2 separate regions of the Homo sapiens genome follow, and region 2 is linked to region 1. The links are contacts of gene promoters, found by promoter capture Hi-C in blood cells and fetal thymus (Javierre and others, 2016). All regions are on one chromosome and are shown on one strand. Each heading gives the region's core, a stretch centred on a gene start or on the middle of the fragment in contact. The rest is flanking DNA. Distances are from core to core; before and after follow the strand shown.

Region 1 (3,972 bases), core at 569-3,068:
CAGGCGGATCACCTGAGGTCAGTTCGAGACCAGCCTGGCCAACATGGTGAAACCCCGTCTCTACTAAAAATACAAAAATTAGCCAGGTATGGCGGTGCACTATAATTACAAGTGACGCCTGTAATCCCAGCTACTCGGAAGGCTGAGGCAGGAGAATCGCTTGAACCCGGGAGGGAGGCGGAGGTTGCAGTGAGCCAAGATTGTGCCACTGCACTCCAGCCTGGGCGACAGAACGAGAGCCGGCTCAAACCAAAAAAAAAAAAAAAAATAGGAGCTAGGAATGGGAGAAAAAATGAGAGGTCTGACGACTTAGTTTGACTTAGAGGCTTAACACTCTGCTTGCCCATTTAAACAAGATCTCAGTTAATAAACTGGTCTTCCCTACTTAGCATACAAGCCAATCTGTTTTTTCTAAAAGTCTTCACCTTTTTGACCTGGTGAACATCAAAGTAGATTGTTATTTCCATATCTTTTATACAACCAACACCTCCACCTCCTAAGTGAAAGTGCTAAAGCACAAACACTGAAGGCTAATACTAGCTTGAGAATCGTGTTGGCCTTCTTTAATGACAAAAGGGTTAATGTGTACACCAGTCCCAAAACACCAACAGAGAAAAGACAGTGCTTTGGACAAGGAAAAGTTCGCGAAGTCCAAGAAAACTAGGAACTCACAAACTCCTAGGGTGAATTCAGCAGGAAAAAGCGCTCCGATGACTTCTCTGAGACCTGGGACAGTCTGTTTTGATTTGCCTTTTTTCTTCTCCTATTTCGCGTGCAGTTAAGAAGTAATGATCATCGTCCCGTGGGACTAGGCGAAATTTAACATCCCTGAAGTTAAACCCGAGCAGTTGCTAATAAATGTATGAAGTTTATGTAAAGTTGATTCGTGCTGGTTTTTTATGCTCCAAACTTCTAGATTTCCCTCACTTACTCGGGGCAGCTTCCACTGACGTTATCGCACGGGCACAGGTACAACTTCACTGGGAACTCCAGGCAACTGATTTGCTCTGAAATGTTAATCAAAGGAAACGTGCGTCAATGTAAAGGCAAAGCTTTTCCCGTGTGGATCAAGGCGCTCAAGAGCAAGGCTCGAAAGTCTGGAGAGAACCAGCTACGCGCGTTAAGTGGCAAAAGGAAAACAGCGCAGCAACTACTTTTCCGAGAGTTTCTCCACTTTGCTAAGACCCATACAAAACCAGCGGCAAGTCCAGAGCCGGAGGGAGAAGAGCCGGGCCTCGGCTGAGCTTTGCCAGCCTAAGTCACCCTACCCCAGTCCGGGAAAGGGGACGCAGGCGGCTAAACACTCCGATTCAAAAGCGGGGCGGGCTTGGCGCCGCTCCGCAAGGAAACTTCGCTCGGGCAACCCAGGGACCATAACTCGGAGAACAGGGCTGGGCTCCCGGGAAGACGCCGCTCAGCACTGGCTGGAACTAGCCTGTCTACCTCCTCTAAGCGCCGGGCTGCCAACGCCGGGCGCGGGGAAGCCCCATCTCCGGGGGTCCAAGCCAGCGGGATTGCGCTTCCCCTGTGTCGCTGCGCTTAGGGGGTGCTCCGGGGGTGGGCCGGGGGCCAGCGGCCCGCCAAGGACCTGTTGGGGAAGGGACAGCCCGTTTGCCTTTACCTGTCGCCGAGGTCCGGAGCGGCGGAGCCCGTGTCCGCCGCCGGTGGGCAGCGCGCTCGGTCGGCTCTGGCGTCCAGGACACCAAGTTGAGTGAGCGCCCCACGTAGCCGGCAGAGCTTCATTCACACAGCCCAGCCGGGGAGGAGGGGGAGCGAAGCGGGCGCGCGGCTCATGTGACAGGGCGCCTCGCGAGTATCGGCTCAGCCCAGCCAGCGTCTGCGCGTGCGCGCCACGCCGAGCTCACACCCGGCACCTCTACCCAGCCGAGATGAGGGGAGGCCCGCCGGGGAGGAGCTGCCAGGAGGAGTTTCAACTTGCGCAGCCGCAGTACGTCGGCCCCGCTCGCTGCCATATTTAATGAGGACTGGGCGGGCGGGTCCTATCCCAGTGCTGGGCGTGTCAGTTGCCTTTGAAAACGCAATGCCCCATTGTGTTTCACTATTTCCAGCTTGCAGTGCCTTTTTTTGCTGGGGAGAAGGTTTGTCCTTAGAATGAAACTGTCTATCCTGAGCTTTCGGCCCACAGAGTAATTAGTAGTAGAAATCTAATACTAATAACATTAGATCACATAATTTGAGCTGCTTCTTATGTGCCAGGCACTCTCCTAACCCCTTTACTTTTTTCGTCTCATTTGGTGTTCACAATAACCCCGAGGGTTATTTCTCCATTTTTACTCATAAAAATACACAGGCACAGAAAGGTTAAGTAACTTGTCTAAACTCATATAATAGTAGGAATAGGAATAGTGATCAAACGTAGTGATACTTTTAACAGCCAACTTGATGTTTCCAGCAACGCTGCAAAAACTATACTGCAGTTGTTAGTACTGTATTATCTCCATATTAATCATTACAAAACAGAGGCTCAGAAAAGCTGAAGTCACAGGACTAGTACGTGGTAGAACTGGGAATCCAACCTAGGTCTAACTTACTCCAAAGCCCTTACCCTAGGTTTGAAAGAAACAGCACACCGTTTTGCAGAAGAGAAAACTTAGGCCAAATGGGGTGCACTGACTCACTTAAGATGATCCAGCTAATTAGTTCTTGGCAGACCTGAGACTGGAATCCATATAATCCAAGTAATCTAACTAGAACCAGGGTACTCTACTGCAGTGAACAATTTGGAATGCCTACTTTGGACAAGCTAAGTGGTCAGGGATTTAAAAACCCCTATCCTAGCCCAATCAGCATAAGGCTACCGGGGACAAATTTGTAATCCGACATAGTCAGGCTTTGACCCATTGCAATATGAGAGACTGCACACGGTAGGCATTTCATCAAACAGAAAAACATGGAGTCATTATAGGATTGGAGAGAAGAGTGGAGTTTAGGTGAATTTTAAACAAAGCAGTGTTTTTGGTAAGCTCAAAGCAAAGCAGTACTGTCATTTGGGGTCACCATCAGGTCTGAACTGCAAAGTGAACCCAGAGTTGTGTTTCCTTGGGAACCACAAAATAAAGATAGATGTGGAATGTTGTGTCCAGATACCCCTTATCTGAAGCTCTGCACCTGGGTTGGAAATTGAGGCTGCTTCTCTGTGTCAAAGAAACTTATGTCCTCCAGATGCATGTGGGATGTTTCATTCTTACTGATACGATTTCAAGCAGAAAAGTTTCTGATAATCTACGATTTTAGAGAACAAAGTCTCTCAGTGAATAAAAAAGTGGTGGTCACTGAAATAAAAACATCGTTACCACTTTACAGCTGCAATATGTCCGCCAAAGAAATATTGTTCTCTGTTAAATTTGCATCTGGTTTTATCTGTGTGTTATTCCGGCCTGATGAATGGCCGGATTTTTATTTTTTCAGTCCAAAATTTTTTTGCTTTCTGAGCTGGTAACATTCAGTCCCTTCCTTCAGGCACTCATGGTGTATGGGATAGCCACAAATAACTAGAAAATATCAGTACAGGCCTCTAATAAAGGTAAATCCAAGTGGAGGTAACACCGTTGGCAAAGGTGAGCAGGCAGGAAGTTATATGTGAGGACCCGTGAGTAGTCCTATGTGGTTGAAGTTTAGGGTAAGGAAGTACAGGGGAATTGTGGAAGATAATACCCAGAAGGTAAATTGGGGCCCAATTTTGGAGCATCCTGAATATTGGACTAAGATTTATACCTAATTCAAAAAGTGACTGAGAAAGAATTGAGGTTTCTGAGCAAGGCAATCCTCTTTTGGAATTCATCTTTTAAAAGGTGAATCTAGAGTAATTGTTCAAGGAAAGGTTTGATTGTTTGCTTGATTTTTTTTTTTGTCATTGAAGTAGAAGAAACTGGAGCTTATATGTAGGTCGAGCAGAAAAACTACTGGTGAAATCAATAATAAAGAGGCAAGAGGCCGGGTGCAGTGGCTCAC
Region 2 (3,972 bases), core at 854-3,353, 2.3 Mb before region 1:
CAGGGTAATTGGCTCTACCCCAGTAAGGGCTTTAGTTTTAAGAAGTGCCCAGTACACTGCCAGGTGGTGCCTCGCTCATGGTGAATATCTTTGGGCTTAGGCTGGGAGCCACTTACAGCAAAAGCTGATGGGTAGGTGTTTGCCTATCCATTTGGTCCAGAGGCGCCTGGAAGCAAATTTGGCATGGCAGAAAATTCTCATTGTAAGTCATGCCTTTGGAGCAGATGAGAGAAGAGAAGTAATAGCTTCCTTTAGTTTCTCTAGTGTCTGTTGCTCAGGTCCCCACTGGAAAGCAGAAGACTTAAGGGAGACTCCATAGATAGCATCCAGCAAATATTGGATGTGAGGAATGTCATGGTGCCAGAATCCAAAGTTTCCTACCACATGTTGGGCTTCCTTAATAGATTTGGAAGGTTGGAGCTCTGGGGACTTGTTTTTCTACCATATTGGGAATAGTTTGCCTTTATGAGTTCTAAATGTAGCCCCCAAATTCAACCGTTGAAGAGGGGCCTTGTACATTATGGAGAAGCAGTTGCCCATACCCTCACAGTGAGGTGCTCACTCATGGCTGCAAGGGACTGTGAGACAGCATCTTGGTTACGTTCAGTGAAGAGGTTGTCGTTGATATTATATGTTCCATGCTTTTCATGATCTGTCACGTGCCTACATTCCCACCTCATCCTCTGCCTCCCCAATGTGTACCTTTTGCCATAGTCACTGTGCTCCTCTAGGGAGCAATGAGTGCTACTGAGTAAACACATGTACATTGTCTCTGCATGTGCAAGGACCCTTGTGACAAACACATCTATTGAGAGTCACGATTCCATGTCTGTGGGTGGCCTCCCATGATAATCCTCTTAGTTTCCACTCTTTTGTTTGCTATTCTCTGGAGTCAGATGGATAAAGCTTCAGTTTCCCAGGTAACCAACCATGGATCTGAGCTGAGTGACCCAGTGCCGATGTGAAGAAGAATGTTGCCAAGACAACGGAATCCATACCCCTTTCCAGCACTGAGGCCTTCCTCCCTCTCACTACCTGCTTGGATCTCAGGTGAGAATGGGAATTTGCTATGGCTAAAAGCGAGGGGATAGATGTGTGGTAGAGGGTTCCAGGAGAGAGGAGAAATCTTGGGATCCCCTCAGAAGGGACTGGAGGGGGGACAAGAGTCACCAAGAAAGCCTGCTGCTGGGCACTGAGATCCCAGGAGACAATGATGACTATGAAAATGCAGTGGTTCTAACATGTGGTTCTGTGATTTTCTCCAGCAGTACACAGAGCTACGAATATTTTCTGACTCTAAGCTCCAGGGCATAGACCCTGAGAAAGAATTTCTGTGTTCATAAAGGGCAGTGGAGCCTGGTATCACTTGTGGAGGGCAGCTGTAAGCCTTGAGGAGGCCCTGCTCACCTCAGCAATAACTCTCATCTGTTACTCCACTCTGTGTGTCTCTCTTCTGGTCCTCTCCTCTTTCTGTGCTCTGTTGTCAGGGTCAATTTATAACAGGTTAAAATTGTCCTCGGTTAAAGGAGAAGAGGAGGCAAGGATGTCTCAATGCCCTCTTCCACGGACTGATAAGACAGTGGGCAGAGGGGGAGCTGGAAGAGATGGTGTGCAGAGACCACAAATTAATTCGTGCTTCTCAGACCTGATTGGGGGCTTTGATGCATTTACTTGCTAAGACTGATCTGATCTTCATTATGAATGTATAACCTCTGTACTGGACAAGAAGGTGAGAAAATACTGGAGTTATGTTTAATCTGGTGTCAGCTGATGCTATCATGTGAATGGTCCATTTGTATAAATGCTCACCCTGTTTTGCTGAAAATGATCAGTCTCCCAGTTTTCTGCCCCACCTCCCTACTCCTTTCCAAGATGATTAATGGTGCGTATGGCTTTCCAGTCTTCATGGTGATAATGGGAAGGGGTCGGTGACATCTTATGTTGATTGCAGTGTTCTCGGTGGCTTGTGAGGGAATCTGGTGCTCCCAGGCTGACTCGGCCTTGGCCCACCCGTGCTGGCATCAGCAGACCCCTCTGAATCTGGGCCTCATCTCCCTCCCACATCTGGGCAGGGCTGTCCACACCACAGCCTCAGCTGCAGGGTCACCTAGCCCCTATCTGGCTTATGCTTGTTTCATGGTAGCACCCCTGGCTCTTGAATCAGCCACTTCCACAGTCCCCCTCTCAGAGAATGTTAGCTCCCTGCAGGAACCAAGATCAGCTCCAAAAATAGAAATTCCTGAACTCCAGCCATTATTCTAACCAAGGAGCTCACTATTTCATCCTGCAAAAGTAAACTTCTGAGTCCTAAATTTCAGTTGGGCAAAAATCTCTTTATTTGGAACTCCCTTCCACTTCTCTGACACACCTGTCACATGTAAGATAAGGCCCTTAGAAGAGAGACTGGGATGAGACACTGTCTCCATGCCTTCTACTCCCCCATGACTGGAACAGAACATTCTTTTGTTTTCCTTATCTTTCATGTTGACATAAGGATTCCCATATTAAATCCAGATCATAAAGGGAAGGCTTTAGGATTTGTACTTTCTCTTGTAGAATTCAAATTTATTTGGAATGTTTGAAGGAGATTGACTAACAGATAAAGAAACACAAAATGGAAGGGATTACCAAATACAAGTCAATACACTGTCAGTAGCAGGACAAGCTCTCTGTAAAAATAAACTTGGAGTTCAAAGGGAGTTGTATTAGTCAGGGTTCTCTAGAGGGACAAAAGTAATATATATATATCTATATGGGAGTTTATTAAGTAGTATTAACTCACACGATCACAAGGTCCCACAATAGGCCATCTGTAAGCTGAGGAGCAAGGAAGCCAGTCTGGGTCCAAAGCTGAAGATCTTGGAGTCTGATGTTCGAGGGCAGGAAGCATCCAGTATGAGAGAAAGATGTAGGCTGCGAGGCTGAGCCAGCCTAGTCTCTTCACGTTTTTCTGCCTGCCTTACATTCTGGCCGCACTGGCTGCTGATTAGATGGTGCCCACCCAGATTAAGGGTGGGTTTGCCTTTCCCAGCCCACTAACTCATATGTTAATCTCCTTTGGCAACACCCTCACAGACACACCCAGGATCAATACTTTGCATCCTTCAATGCAGTCAAGTTGACACTCAGTATTAACCATCACAGGAATCATCACGCTTTAAAAGGGGCCTACAAGGTGCTGCATCAGCGGTTTTTATATGTGTGTACAGAGAGCGTCACTTCTAAGCTATCTCTCCCCACCATTGTCTGGTAACTCCTGAGACTACTTGAGCATCAGAGACAAACTATCCTGAAGCTTGTGGTGTGTTCGCGGAGTTACAAGGGCAAGCTCAGGTGTCTGTTCATGTCTGTATTAGTCCTGAAGCTTTGTGGAGGCCTACATGACCTATTCATTAGCTAACATCTTCCTCATTCTCCCTCAAATTTATTGTATTTATGCCACTTAAAATATCAATAAAATAATTTTATGATTAAGAAGAAAAACAAGGCAGGGCAAAGAGGAGAGAAGACAGGGAGGGAAATAAAGAAGGAGGGAGGAGAGTAGCTTTGAGAAGGAGGGAGGTGTCAGATGTACTGAAGGCATCTGGACATATAGTGTAAAAGGATGAGGACGTGATCATAGTGTTAGGCAATATGAAGGCCATCGGTGCCTTTAACAAAAGCATTTTTCTGTTGAGAGGTGAGCAGGTAGAAGCTGCATTGAAGAGGTTTGTAATGATAATGATTATAGAACAAGGGAAGACAGATTTGCTGCTTGGAGCATCAGGGAAATGTGTCATTACCTTGGAGAAATATGGGATAAGGAACTGATTTCTGTTTTATTACATTTTGTATAAAATGTCAGAAACAAGAGCATGTTTATAGATGACAGAAGAATCCAGAATAAAGAAAGAATGTGACAATTCAGGAATAAGGGATAATCACTACAAAAGTCTCTACCTTGAGAAGGTAGAGGGCATGGGATTCAGGTGA

What was found. Contacts are between HindIII fragments. The CHiCAGO score rates a contact against its expected background, and 5 or more counts as called.
Region 2: a fragment that was not itself captured here is called in contact with the fragment with the promoter of CLCN5 in region 1 in 3 of 17 cell types (non-activated CD4 T cells, neutrophils and total CD8 T cells); the score reaches 11.1 in non-activated CD4 T cells.

The regions. Positions count from the first base shown.
Region 1 is chrX:49,920,442-49,924,413 of GRCh38, reverse strand. CLCN5 (chloride voltage-gated channel 5) reads right to left here and starts at 1,818. Exons shown (of 15, transcript NM_001127898.4): 1 at 1,622-1,818; 2 at 932-1,007. RefSeq lists a silencer at 1,507-1,556. The HindIII fragment of the contact is 4,286 bases long and covers 1,055-3,972 here.
Region 2 is chrX:52,262,826-52,266,797 of GRCh38, reverse strand. LOC105377209 (a long non-coding RNA gene) reads left to right here and starts at 867. Exons shown (of 4, transcript XR_938385.3): 1 at 867-1,050. The HindIII fragment of the contact is 2,389 bases long and covers 909-3,297 here.